4 separate regions of the Homo sapiens genome follow, and all the other regions are linked to region 4. The links are contacts of gene promoters, found by promoter capture Hi-C in blood cells and fetal thymus (Javierre and others, 2016). All regions are on one chromosome and are shown on one strand. The core of a region is centred on a gene start or on the middle of the fragment in contact, and the rest is flanking DNA. Distances in the headings are between cores, read along the strand shown. Region 1 overlaps ELOA-AS1 (ELOA antisense RNA 1). Region 2 has its middle 8.1 kb from the start of RPL11. Region 3 overlaps ELOA (elongin A). Region 4 holds the start of HNRNPR (heterogeneous nuclear ribonucleoprotein R).

Region 1 (2,700 bases), core at 92-2,591, 430 kb after region 4:
GCACAACAAAAATCATCACATTCTAGAATACCAAGAGAAGATCTTAAAAGCTTCCAGAAAACGGGGTGGGGTGGGGGGAAAACCCATAAAAAGAATCAGGATTCAGAACAGCATTGTATTTATCAAAGCCAGAAGAAAACCAGAGCAATTTCTTCACAATTATGAAAGAATTCTATCCACAGCCAAACTACTAATTAAGTACAGTAGAATAAAGCCATTTTCAGTGCCACTTAACATGTATGGCAGCATGGTAGCCAGCCACTAAGGTGGCCTCTAATGATTTCTACCTCCTGGTATCTGCACTCTTATGAAGTTCCCGCACACACTGAATATGGCTGACCTGTGAAACCATGGGATGTTGCAAAATTGACAATATGGGACTTCTGTGGCTAGGTCATAAAAGACATTGGTGGTTTCTACCTTGCCCTTAGATCACTTGTTCTGCTGAAAACCAGCTGCTGTATCATGAGGACACTCAAACAGTACTATTGAGAGGTCCATGTGTTAAGGAACTGGGGCCTCCTGCCAAGAGCCTGCACAAACTTGCCAGCCGGGGCTTCTCCAGCCCTGGCCAAGCCTTCATATGATTTCAGGCTCATGAGAGACCCCAAGCCAGAACCACCCAGCTAGGACGCTCTCAAATTCCTAACTCACAGAAACTGTGAGATGATAAATGTTAATTGTTGTTTTGAGGAGAGAGGCCATTTCTCTTACTGTCTCTGAAGAGAAGGAAGAAGTAAAAGCTGAAAAACAACAGGAATGAAGTCAGTGGCAAGACCAACTGATGCCACTTACCAGGCCTGAGGTTAAAGATTAACGCCCCCACCCTAACCACATGTGTTACCTATAGATCACTTGCTCAATCTATCACAACCCTTTCACGTGGACCCCCTTAGAGTTATAAGCCCTTAAAAGGGCCAGGAACTTTTTCTTTGGAGAGCTTGGTTCTTGAGACACAACTCTGCCAACGCTCCTGGCCGAATAAAGTCTCTTCCTTCTTTAACCTGGTGTCTGACAGGTTTTATCTGCAGCTTGTCCTGCTACAGTTTTAAGCCATTAAGTTTGGGAATAATTTGTTACACAACAAAAGACAACTAATACAGACCTACTGGGAGGGGAGGAGCCACAGTATTTTGCAGTTCTTCCAATCAGGAGGTGAAGTCTACAGTCTAGCTCTCCACTCTAGAATTTGGATTTGGCTGATGGGTCATTATAGAAAGATTATAGATGTAAGGCTTAAAAAGTGCTTGTGCTGGCAGGGCGCAGTGGCTCATGCCTGTAATCCTAGCACTTTGGGAGGCCGAGGTGGGCAGATCACCTGAGGTCAGAAGTTTGAGACCAGCCTGCCCAACATGGTGAAACCCCATCTCTACTAAAAATACAAAAATTAGCCAGGCGTGGTGGCAGGCGCCTGTAATCCCAGCTACTCGGAAGGCTGAGGCAGGAGAATCGCTTGAACCCGGGAGGGGGAGGTTGCAGTGAGCGGAGATTGTGCCACTGCACTCCAGCTTAGGTGACAGAGCAAGACTCCATCTCAAAAAAAAAAAAAAAAAAAAAAGTGCTTGTGCAATTGAGTCTTGCCCTCTCTTGCTCCTGGGAACTCTGCAATTATCACCATGTAATTTAGCTAGGCTTGTCTGCTGGAGACACGTGGTCCCATCATCCCAGCTAACAGCCAGCATCAAGCAGACGAGAGTGAGACCATCCCAAACTTTCCAGCCCAAGCTGAACTGGCCCAGAAAAGCTAATCCACAGGATCATGCGAATTAATCAATGTTTGTTGTTTAAAGCTATCAAAGTTTTAGGGTAATCTGTTACACAGCATAAGCTAATTGATACAGCATATTTACTTTGTGTGCACCTCCCGCCTCAACCTCCCCACCCTAACCAGGAAACTACTGATGTGTTACAAGAACACTACAGGATGTGTTCAAAGCCTGGTTACCTCCTAACTTTACCTAGTCTCAGACAAGTTAGTTTGCCTCTTTCAGCCTCAGTTTTCCTCATCTTCAAATTGGAGATAACAGTAGGTAATAGCACCTAGCTCTCTTTTTTTTTTTTTTGAGATGGAGTCTCGCTCTGTCGCTCAGGCTGGAGTGCAGTGGCACAATCTCGGCTCACTGCAACCTCTGCCTCCTGGGTTCAAGCGATTCTCCTGCCTCAGCCTCCCGAGTAGCTGGGATTACAGGCACACGCTACGATGCCTGGCTAATTTTTCTATTTTTAGTAGAGACGGGGTTTCACCATGCTGGCCAGGCTGGTCTCAAACTCCTGACCTCAAGTGATCTACCCGCCTCGGCCTCCCAAAGTGTTACAGGTGTGAGCCACCACACCTGGCTGTACCTAGCTCTTAAAGTTCATGTGACAATTAATTGAGATGAACTACATAATGTGCTTAGCACACAGTGCTCAAATAAATCATTAATGAAGGCAACAGGAAAAAGCCAAAATGAGTAGATCTCCGGGGTAAGGCCTGAGTTGGTTCTTCAAAAGGACACTCTTACCAAAGAAAGGCTACCAAGTATATCAGTCAAGTAAACATTTACTGTTTGCCACATTCCAGGTCCCTTACCTGAAACTGTGACCTAAAAGCAGGAATAATTCACGGCACTGAGCTATTTTGAAACAGAACCAAGCTTGCTTATTGCACAAGTAACTAAAATAGGACATCAAAATATTTTTCTTGTTTTTATTTTTTTG
Region 2 (2,700 bases), core at 187-2,686, 360 kb after region 4:
GCACTGTTGGGAGTTCAAAGAGCTAACCAGGTTTTAGTCCTAGCTCTAAATGGCATTGAGATTTTGGGCAGGTCATGAAACATCTGGAGGACTGCAACCACTAGAGACAGACAACCACCCAGTAGCTAGACAGCTAGCCCCTATTCTGGCTAGAAGCTTGACTTGCAAACAAATGTCCTATTGGTATCTAAAGCACTGTCATTTGTGGTTGAACTTGTACCAAGTGGGTAGATAGGATCGCCTGGGAGTTTGTTAAAACTCGTGGGCCCTACCTCAGACCTACTGAATTAGAATCTAATTTAACGAGATCTGCGGGTGATTTGTACGCATACTAAAGTGTAGAGGTAGTGGCCAAAAAAAGCAGGAAGGGCATGATACCCAAGGAGGTTTCCTTAATACATTTAGTTCTTATGAAGTTCTTACTGTGTGGTTATTTTTCTCGTTTCTTCAGCTGCTACCCATGAAAGTCTGGGAGTGGACCCTGTCTCAGAAAAAAAAAATGAATAAAAAATTATACACAATAATTACAATACTGAGGCGACAGTGGGTTCTCTTTTACTATTAGAAACACCAAATAGTAAACACAGCTAAGGCTTTTTTTTCCTTTAGACATAGTTGGGAGGTGTTTTTACTTTTTCCCTTTAACAGTTGCGTTCTCAGTACATTGCAGTGGCTATACAATATTTCATTTTGGAAATGTATGGGACATAATTATGTAGCTGGCACTAAATGTCAGGAATGTCAGTTTCATTAAACTATCCAATAGAGGCTCTTTTATCCTGCTGTCTTGCCCTCTGTCCAGTGAGTACCTTTAAGGTCCTTGCAAGGTGTCTTGAGCTGTTCAATGGTGTGGTATTGTGGAAAGAATGCTAAACAGGAAAAAGATTATCCATCTTCATTTGTTTTTGAGACAGGGTCTTGCACTGTCATGTGCTGGAGTGCAGTGGTACCATCACGACTCACTTCAGCCTCAACCTCCTGGGCTCAAGTGATCCTTCTACCTCGATCTCCCGAGTAGCTGGGACTACAGTTGCATGCCAGCATGCCCAACTATTTTTTTTTTTTTTTTTTTTTTTGGTAGAGAAGGGGTCTCACTGTGTTGCCAAGGCAAGTTATCCATGTTCTGATTTTGGTTCTGCTTTCCCTGCTAGCGTTACGACCATGGGCAAGAAACCTGGCAAGTTACAGTCTGGCCCTCTAAAGTGGAGTATGTTGGATTTTTGCGTATAACCCTTTATCTTCTAAACTGTGTGCTTAAGCTTCCTTTTCTTGCAGTTTAACACTCTGGCTAGTCCTAACCTGCTAAACTCAACGCAAATGCTGAGGTGCTCCAGCCAACTGGTGGTTGAAGACCAGAATGAGTAGTCTACCAAAGGCAACTGAGTGCTACAGGGTTAAGGCCCAAGCCTTCTAGGTACTCTGGCCCAGAAACCACCCACACATAGTTTAAGCTGCCAGCCACTGGGGACCATGCTAGTGCCTGGGGATACAGAACTAGTCAGAGCTGCTTGTTATGGAAACCACAATGTGGTTGTCAGAGGGGAATCCAGCCTAAGATACCTGGAGGGCACCAGGAGAACTGAACTTGACTCTGCTTAAGGTGGCAAATGCAGGAAAGCTTAGGAAACAAGTATAAATGGTTTATTTTCACAAATCAGTGAACCAAACTGATGTGTGATGATACCAGTTGACCTTTAACGATTTTAGGAAGTTTTGTAATTACCTTTTGTCAAGATTGATACTTTTTTTTTTTTTTCCCTGAGACGGAGTCTAGTTCTGTCACCCAGGCTGGAGTGCAGTGGTGCAGTCTCAGCTCACTGCAGCCTCTGCCTCCCGGGTTCAAGCTATTCTCTTGCCTCAGCCTCCCGAGGAGCTGGGATTACAGGCGTCCGCCACCATGCCCAGCTAATTTTTGTATTTTTAGTAGAGACAGGGTTTCGCTGTGTTGGCCAGGCTGGTCTCGAACTCCTGACCTCGTGGTCCACCTGGCTCAGCCTAAGATTGATACAATTTTTTATGCAATAAGTATGTAAGTAGTTAACCTGGAATCTAAAAGGAGCTTGAAAGGCAAAGGCATTCAACAATAGGCACAAATGAAATTCTAGACCCTCTCAGTTACCCTGCTTGAACGTATGGCTTTGATAACATGACTCAACTCTGAAATGCTCTGATGATTGCCTCTGGAACACAGTGCTTTATTTTTTGCTTTAAAGATCAGTTCTGTTCAAACATGACATGGCGTATCATAGTGGCTAAGAGCACAGAGTTTGGAATTTAAGGCTGGGGGGATGAAGAGGTTGATTAATGGGTGTAGAAATATAGTTAGAGGAAATAAGACCCAGTGTTTGATAGATCAATAGGGTGACTAGTTAATGATTTGTATTTTAAAATAGAAAATAATTCTTTTTTTTTTTTTTTTTTGAGACGGAATCTTATCGCTCTGTCGCCCAGGCTGGAGTGCAGTGGTGCGATCTCGGCTCACTGCAAGCTCCGCCTCCCAGGTTCATGCCATAAAATAGAGAATAATTCTAATGTTACCAGCATAAAGAAAGATAAATGTTTAAGGTAGCAGATATCCCAGTTACCCTGATTTGATCATTACACATTGTACGAATGTATCAGAATATCACATGTACTCCAAAATATGTACATCTATTTTGTTTCAATAAAAAAAACAGGCCAGGCATAGTGGCTCATGCC
Region 3 (2,700 bases), core at 106-2,605, 410 kb after region 4:
GAATTCAGAAGTGATGCCTTTTTGCTCTGGGTTTATCACATAGTAATTGTTCAGTAAATTGCTGCTGCTGTTATTAGCAGCCCTTTATCCTATGTGTTACATAGGATTTTTGTCTGAAAGAAAAAAATGTCTAATTTTCATAGCAAAAGAAGTAGAAGCCACATAAGGGTCTATCAGCAGGAGACTAACAGATAAATCATGGTTCATCTACACAGTGGCATCCTATGCCACAGTAAAAAAAAAATGTGGAAAGTCTATGCACTGACATGGAATGATCTCTCAGATGTGGCAAATGAAAAAAAGCAATGTATGTAGTGAGTATGTTATTAATTGATTCATTGGCTTAAAAGGAATAAGATACATTTGCTTTTTTTTGTTGTTGCTGTTGAGAGTCTTGCTGTGTTACTCAGGCTGGAGTGCAGTAGCTCCATCTTGGCTCACTGCAGCCTCCACCTCCTAGGTTCAAGCAATTCCTCTGCCTCAGCCTCCTGAGTAGCTGGGACTACAGGTGCATGTTGGGCAGGCTGATCTCGAACTCTTGACCTCAGATGATTCATGTGCCTTGGCCTCCTAAAGTGCTGGGATTACAGGAGCTTATTTTTAAATTCTCTGGAAGGATCTACAAAAATCTGTAGCGTGGATTGCCATTGGGAAAGGGAAGTAGGAGGCTGAAGGGGGTAGAAGGAGAGTTTTCACTGGATCACTTAGGGCCTTTTGTGTTTTTCTTGCCCTATAGCGTTCTCTTCACCCCAGGAAGAAGAAGAAGCTGGATTTACTGGGCGCAGAATGAATTCCAAGATGCAGGTGTATTCTGGTTCCAAGTGTGCCTATCTCCCTAAAATGATGACCTTGCACCAGCAATGCATCCGAGTACTTAAAAACAACATCGATTGTAAGTCACACGCTTCTCTCTAGCTCTCAAGCACATTGTAGCACTTGGACCTTATCACTGGGTGGCTTGGCTGCTACTCAGTGTCTTCACCTTTGGTTTCTCTGCAGCAATCTTTGAAGTGGGAGGAGTCCCATACTCTGTTCTTGAACCCGTTTTGGAGAGGTGTACACCTGATCAGCTGTATCGCATAGAGGAATACAATCATGTGAGTATTCTGTTTGGGTGGGAAGAGGGCAGTTTTCTGGCTTGTACCTCCAGAAATAGCTTTGTCCCTGTGACTCCGCTGTGGCTGAAGGGCAGATCAGTGGTCAGAGCATTGTTCTGGATATATTTGGTTTGCCACTGGGCCTTTAAACAAGCATGTTATTAGCACTTGCTCCTGGCACCTTAAGTGGGCCTCTTGGGCTAGGATCAGGGTGGGATTCAAAGGGAGAAGAAAAACACTTAACATCTCCCTTGAGCTTGCCTAGTCATGAAGGTAAAGGGAGAATTCTGGCAGCAGAGTAGCTGGGACCCAGGGCGGGGAAAGCACTTTGTGTTGACACTCTGACATCTGGTGATTGGCTGGATGTCTCTTAAGAAACATCAAGATTTATCCAGAATCCTCCTTAGGATGTAGGGTATACACATTTGATTGCATCAGCTGTCTCTCTTTAATTCTGAAAGTTCTATGACCTAACACCTTTTTTTTTTTTTTTGGAGATAGGGTCTACCTCTGTTGCTTCGACTGCAGTACAGAGGCCTAATCATGGCTTACTGCATCCTTGAACTCCTGGGCTTAAGTGATCCTCCCAAGTAGCTGGGACTACAGGCACATACCACCACAGCTGGCTAATATTTTTATTTTTTAGAGAGATGGACTCTCAGACTCTTGGCCTCCTGAAGTGCTGGGATTACAGGCATGAGCCAACGCGCCTGGCCAATAACTTAACATCCTTCTTAGGTTGCCCCTTTGCCATCACAGTTCAGCGTAGTGTTGGGAAGTACCTGATTTGACTTGATCGCAGTTCTACCCTTTGCTGATTTTCTAAAGGAAAAGACTGATGTTACACAGATTTTTGTGATATTCTGTCACAGCCACCAAAAGCAACTAGCATAGTGCCTCACACTTCGCATTTTTAAAATTTAGGGAGTTATTTTTTTCCTAGAATTGTGGTATTTTAACATACTACTAAGATGAAGACCAAAAAATTTTTGGGAAACTGGTCACTCCTAGGTAATTAAATAATCAGAAAAAGATATGAGGCTGGGCATGGTGACACACGCCTGTAATCCCAGCACTCTGGGAGGCCAAGGTGGGCGGATTATCTGAGGTCAGGAGTTCGAGACCAGCCTGGACAACATGGCAAAACCCCATCTCTACTGAAAATATAAAATAGCTGGGCGTGGTGGTAAGCACCTGTAGTCCTGGCTACTTGAGAGGCTGAGGCGTGAGAATCGCTTGAACCCAGGAGGCAAGGGTTGCAGTGAACCAAAATTGCACCACTGCACTGCAGTCTACACGACAGAGCAAGACTCTGTCTCAAAAAAAAAAAAAAAATATGGAAAAGTGCTTGTACACAAATGATGTCCTGGTTCTGGTTTCAGGTATTAATTGAAGAAACAGATCAATTATGGAAAGTTCATTGTCACCGAGACTTTAAGGAAGAAAGACCCGAAGAGTATGAGTCGTGGCGAGAGATGTACCTGCGGCTTCAGGACGCCCGAGAGCAGCGGCTACGAGTACTAACAAAGAATATCCAGTTCGCACATGCCAATAAGCCCAAAGGTAACAGAGACGGGAGAGCTGGGGGAGAACTGGCAGGATG
Region 4 (2,700 bases), core at 154-2,653:
TACCATTTCATTGCAAAGGCTCTACAAGTTGATACTGAAATTGGTTAAAATTTTCAAAAAAAGTTTGTAAATTTTAACAAAAAAACCGTAAAATAATTAGATTCCAGAAAATAAAACCTTCGGATCAAGGAAAGCCCTCTCTCTTCAAGCCAAATACAAAATGCTCATTTTGAAAAGACTTTTTATGTCATATGAGACCATTTGAAACTCATTCAAATGTGGCATTCAACACAATGCCACACAGCCAAACCATATTTCTGGATGCAGCAAATATACTAACGTGACTGGAGTCATTTGATCTAAACATTTTTGCAAAAAAAAAGGAGACATTTAAAGATTTAAAAGGGCTGCTGGGAGATTCGGGATGTCAGCACTAACTCCTCCCTGACTTTTTCTGAACCTCTCTGTGCAAATTCTTCATATTAAGAGACGGGCTTTAAAAGAACCAACGAAATGAGACTAACGGTTATCTCATGGCTTAGGAGTGTCGAGCTCTCATCCTACGACTGACTCATGAGACATCAATTCAGCCACTTGAGGACTGCAAAAATCTCAAACAGGTAGTGTGAAAGGACTGAACCTTCCAAGAAGCCCTGGGCTTTTTTAAAAATTTGGCAATACGGCCACTACCGTGTAAGAAAAAGGATCGCCTTTCCAATTTGGTGCGCCTCTGACAGTCTCAGAATTATCCATTTCAGGCGCCGCTTGGAGCCTAAGTTCTACGGCCTCTAGTAGTCATTTTTTCCTTCAAATCTCAGCCCGCGGCATGCAGAATGTGGGAGGGGAGGGAGGCTTCCCACACAAATCGGCCTTTCGGTTTCTGCTCACACAAAACTTTTCTCCCGGCTCAGATAACCCTGGGATCTGCACCCCGCCTTCCGCCCCCCACCCCCATCCCCTCAGGCCCGTCCGGATCATCAGCACATCCCTCTCGGGCTAGGCCGGCCGCGGCGGGAGCGAAGCGGCTCCGGCGGGGAGAAGCGGCAGGGCCGCGGGCGCCTCAGGCCCTTCGCGGGATCCGGCCGCATGGAGCAGCGAGCGGAGGCGGGAAAAGCACGGCCGGCCCCAGCAGGCCGCGCGGAGAGCGCCCAGCGGGCCGGACCGCGGGCTAAAGGGGCGGGGGGAGGAAGAGCGAGGGCGAGAAGCGTTTCGGCCGGGCTAGGCCCACAGCCGCGCGGGCGGACTAGACCGAAGCCGCCCCCAGCCCGTCCCCACCCCCACCCCGGGGCCTCGGAGCGCAAACGAAACGGGACCAGGCACGGAGCCCGGGCTGAGTCGGGTCGCATCGGGGCTCCCGGCCCCTCCCCCCACGGGCCGGCGCGAGACTCACCAGGGCAGAGCGGGGGCCGGCAGCCGGGCCCGTGAGAATCAGCGCGAGGCGCTTTGAAAACGACTAGAAATGGCGCGCGCGCCACCCCCTCCCCCCCCTGATGGACTGAGACGCGATCCCGGCAGCACGCGGGGTTTCCCGGAACTGCTTCCAGGGACTCCGAGCTACGGGGCAATCGCTTGGCGAGGCGGCCTGACAGGCAGCTCAGACGACCAGTAGTATCCAGGCAAAACGGACCACGCCGGACGACTCGAGAGCCAATCGATGAAGCTGCCGGCTGAACCAATGAGGGTGCTCAGCGCCCCTGGCTGGGGCGCCTCCGGGGCGGGGGCAGGCACACAAAGGGGTCTGTGGTGGAAGCCCTTGGTGGCTGCAAGGCTTGGGGGCGCTGGGTCCTGGGTGGACGAAGCTCCTCCCTCTTCGTCTGCCGCCGATGCGAGGCCGAAAATCTAGGCCTCGCGCCGCGTGGCCGCCTCCGGAGCCCCGCCCCCTATGGTCAGCACTGGCCCAGCTCCGCCATGGCGCTTGCGTCCCGCCACCGGCCGCCCTTAGCCCCCGAGTCCTCCCTCGCACCCCCGCGGCCGGCGTTCCCCCCAGACACGCCCATAGCCACGCGTTCGGGCCTCTTTCGGTCATCTTTTCGCCTCTAGTGAGCACACGATTTAAGGATGATTTGGCTCGTCATTTTGCTGAGGATTTTGTCTAGATAATCATTCCTTGGAACGATCGGAGAAATGCCTCTTTCCCTCCCTGGCTGCCGTCCACACATCGTTGGTGGCAGACTGTGAGGGAAATCGTTAAAATGACTCAAAAGCAATGTGTAACACAAGTGATAGAGCAGGGAGCTTTTCCCCACAGGGTTTGGAGCTACTTGATATTCATAAAATAAAGCAGCTATATACATCTCTGAAGCCAAAAGAGCCATGCAGGGGAAAGGGGTAATTCCCAAAGGACACTATAATTCGTGTTAGTCCTAAACCTATTTCTCACCTGCCATTCCTACTGATTTGTTCCCTGTCCTTAGTCCAAACCTGTCTCGTCTCATAGAAACCTTCCGAACTCACTTCTGTGGTGCAAGCGCTTTTTTCCCAACCCCAAACTCCAATGCCCCACCCTTAGGAAGTGGAGGAAGTCAAGCAGTGGTCTGCAGATTTCCAGATGCACTCAAGGATGATTAAATTTCTCAGAACCTACAAACCTATATTTAATTATTGAAAACGGGCGGGGCGTGGTAGCTCATGCCTGTAATCCCAGCACTTTGGGAGGCCGAGGCGGGTGTATCGGTCAGAAGTTCGAGACCAGCCTGATCAACATGGTGAAACCCTGCCTCTACTAAAAATACAAAAATTAGCCCGGTGTGGTGGCACGTG

The links. Contacts are between HindIII fragments. The CHiCAGO score rates a contact against its expected background, and 5 or more counts as called.
Region 1: a contact is called between a fragment that was not itself captured here and the fragment with the promoter of HNRNPR in region 4, in 1 of 17 cell types (fetal thymus). The highest score is 7.7, in fetal thymus.
Region 2: a fragment that was not itself captured here is called in contact with the fragment with the promoter of HNRNPR in region 4 in 1 of 17 cell types (fetal thymus); the score reaches 5.7 in fetal thymus.
Region 3: a fragment that was not itself captured here is called in contact with the fragment with the promoter of HNRNPR in region 4 in 1 of 17 cell types (fetal thymus); the score reaches 5.5 in fetal thymus.

What each region holds. Positions count from the first base shown.
Region 1 is chr1:23,773,848-23,776,547 of GRCh38, forward strand. All of the region lies in intron 1 of ELOA-AS1 (ELOA antisense RNA 1), which reads right to left. Among named protein-coding and RNA genes, the nearest start is that of ELOA-AS1, 3.1 kb to the right of the region's middle. The HindIII fragment of the contact is 2,586 bases long and covers 49-2,634 here.
Region 2 is chr1:23,698,512-23,701,211 of GRCh38, forward strand. No RefSeq gene overlaps it. Among named protein-coding and RNA genes, the nearest start is that of RPL11, 8.1 kb to the left of the region's middle. The HindIII fragment of the contact is 359 bases long and covers 1,258-1,616 here.
Region 3 is chr1:23,753,364-23,756,063 of GRCh38, forward strand. It overlaps ELOA (elongin A), which reads left to right. Exons shown (of 11, transcript NM_003198.3): 6 at 737-892; 7 at 1,000-1,097; 8 at 2,480-2,660. Among named protein-coding and RNA genes, the nearest start is that of ELOA, 11 kb to the left of the region's middle. The HindIII fragment of the contact is 9,647 bases long and covers 1-2,700 here.
Region 4 is chr1:23,342,881-23,345,580 of GRCh38, forward strand. It overlaps HNRNPR (heterogeneous nuclear ribonucleoprotein R), which reads right to left and starts at 1,404. Exons shown (of 11, transcript NM_005826.5): 1 at 1,331-1,404. RefSeq lists silencers at 877-946, 957-1,316, 1,827-1,946 and an enhancer at 1,337-1,921. The HindIII fragment of the contact is 3,804 bases long and covers 1-2,700 here.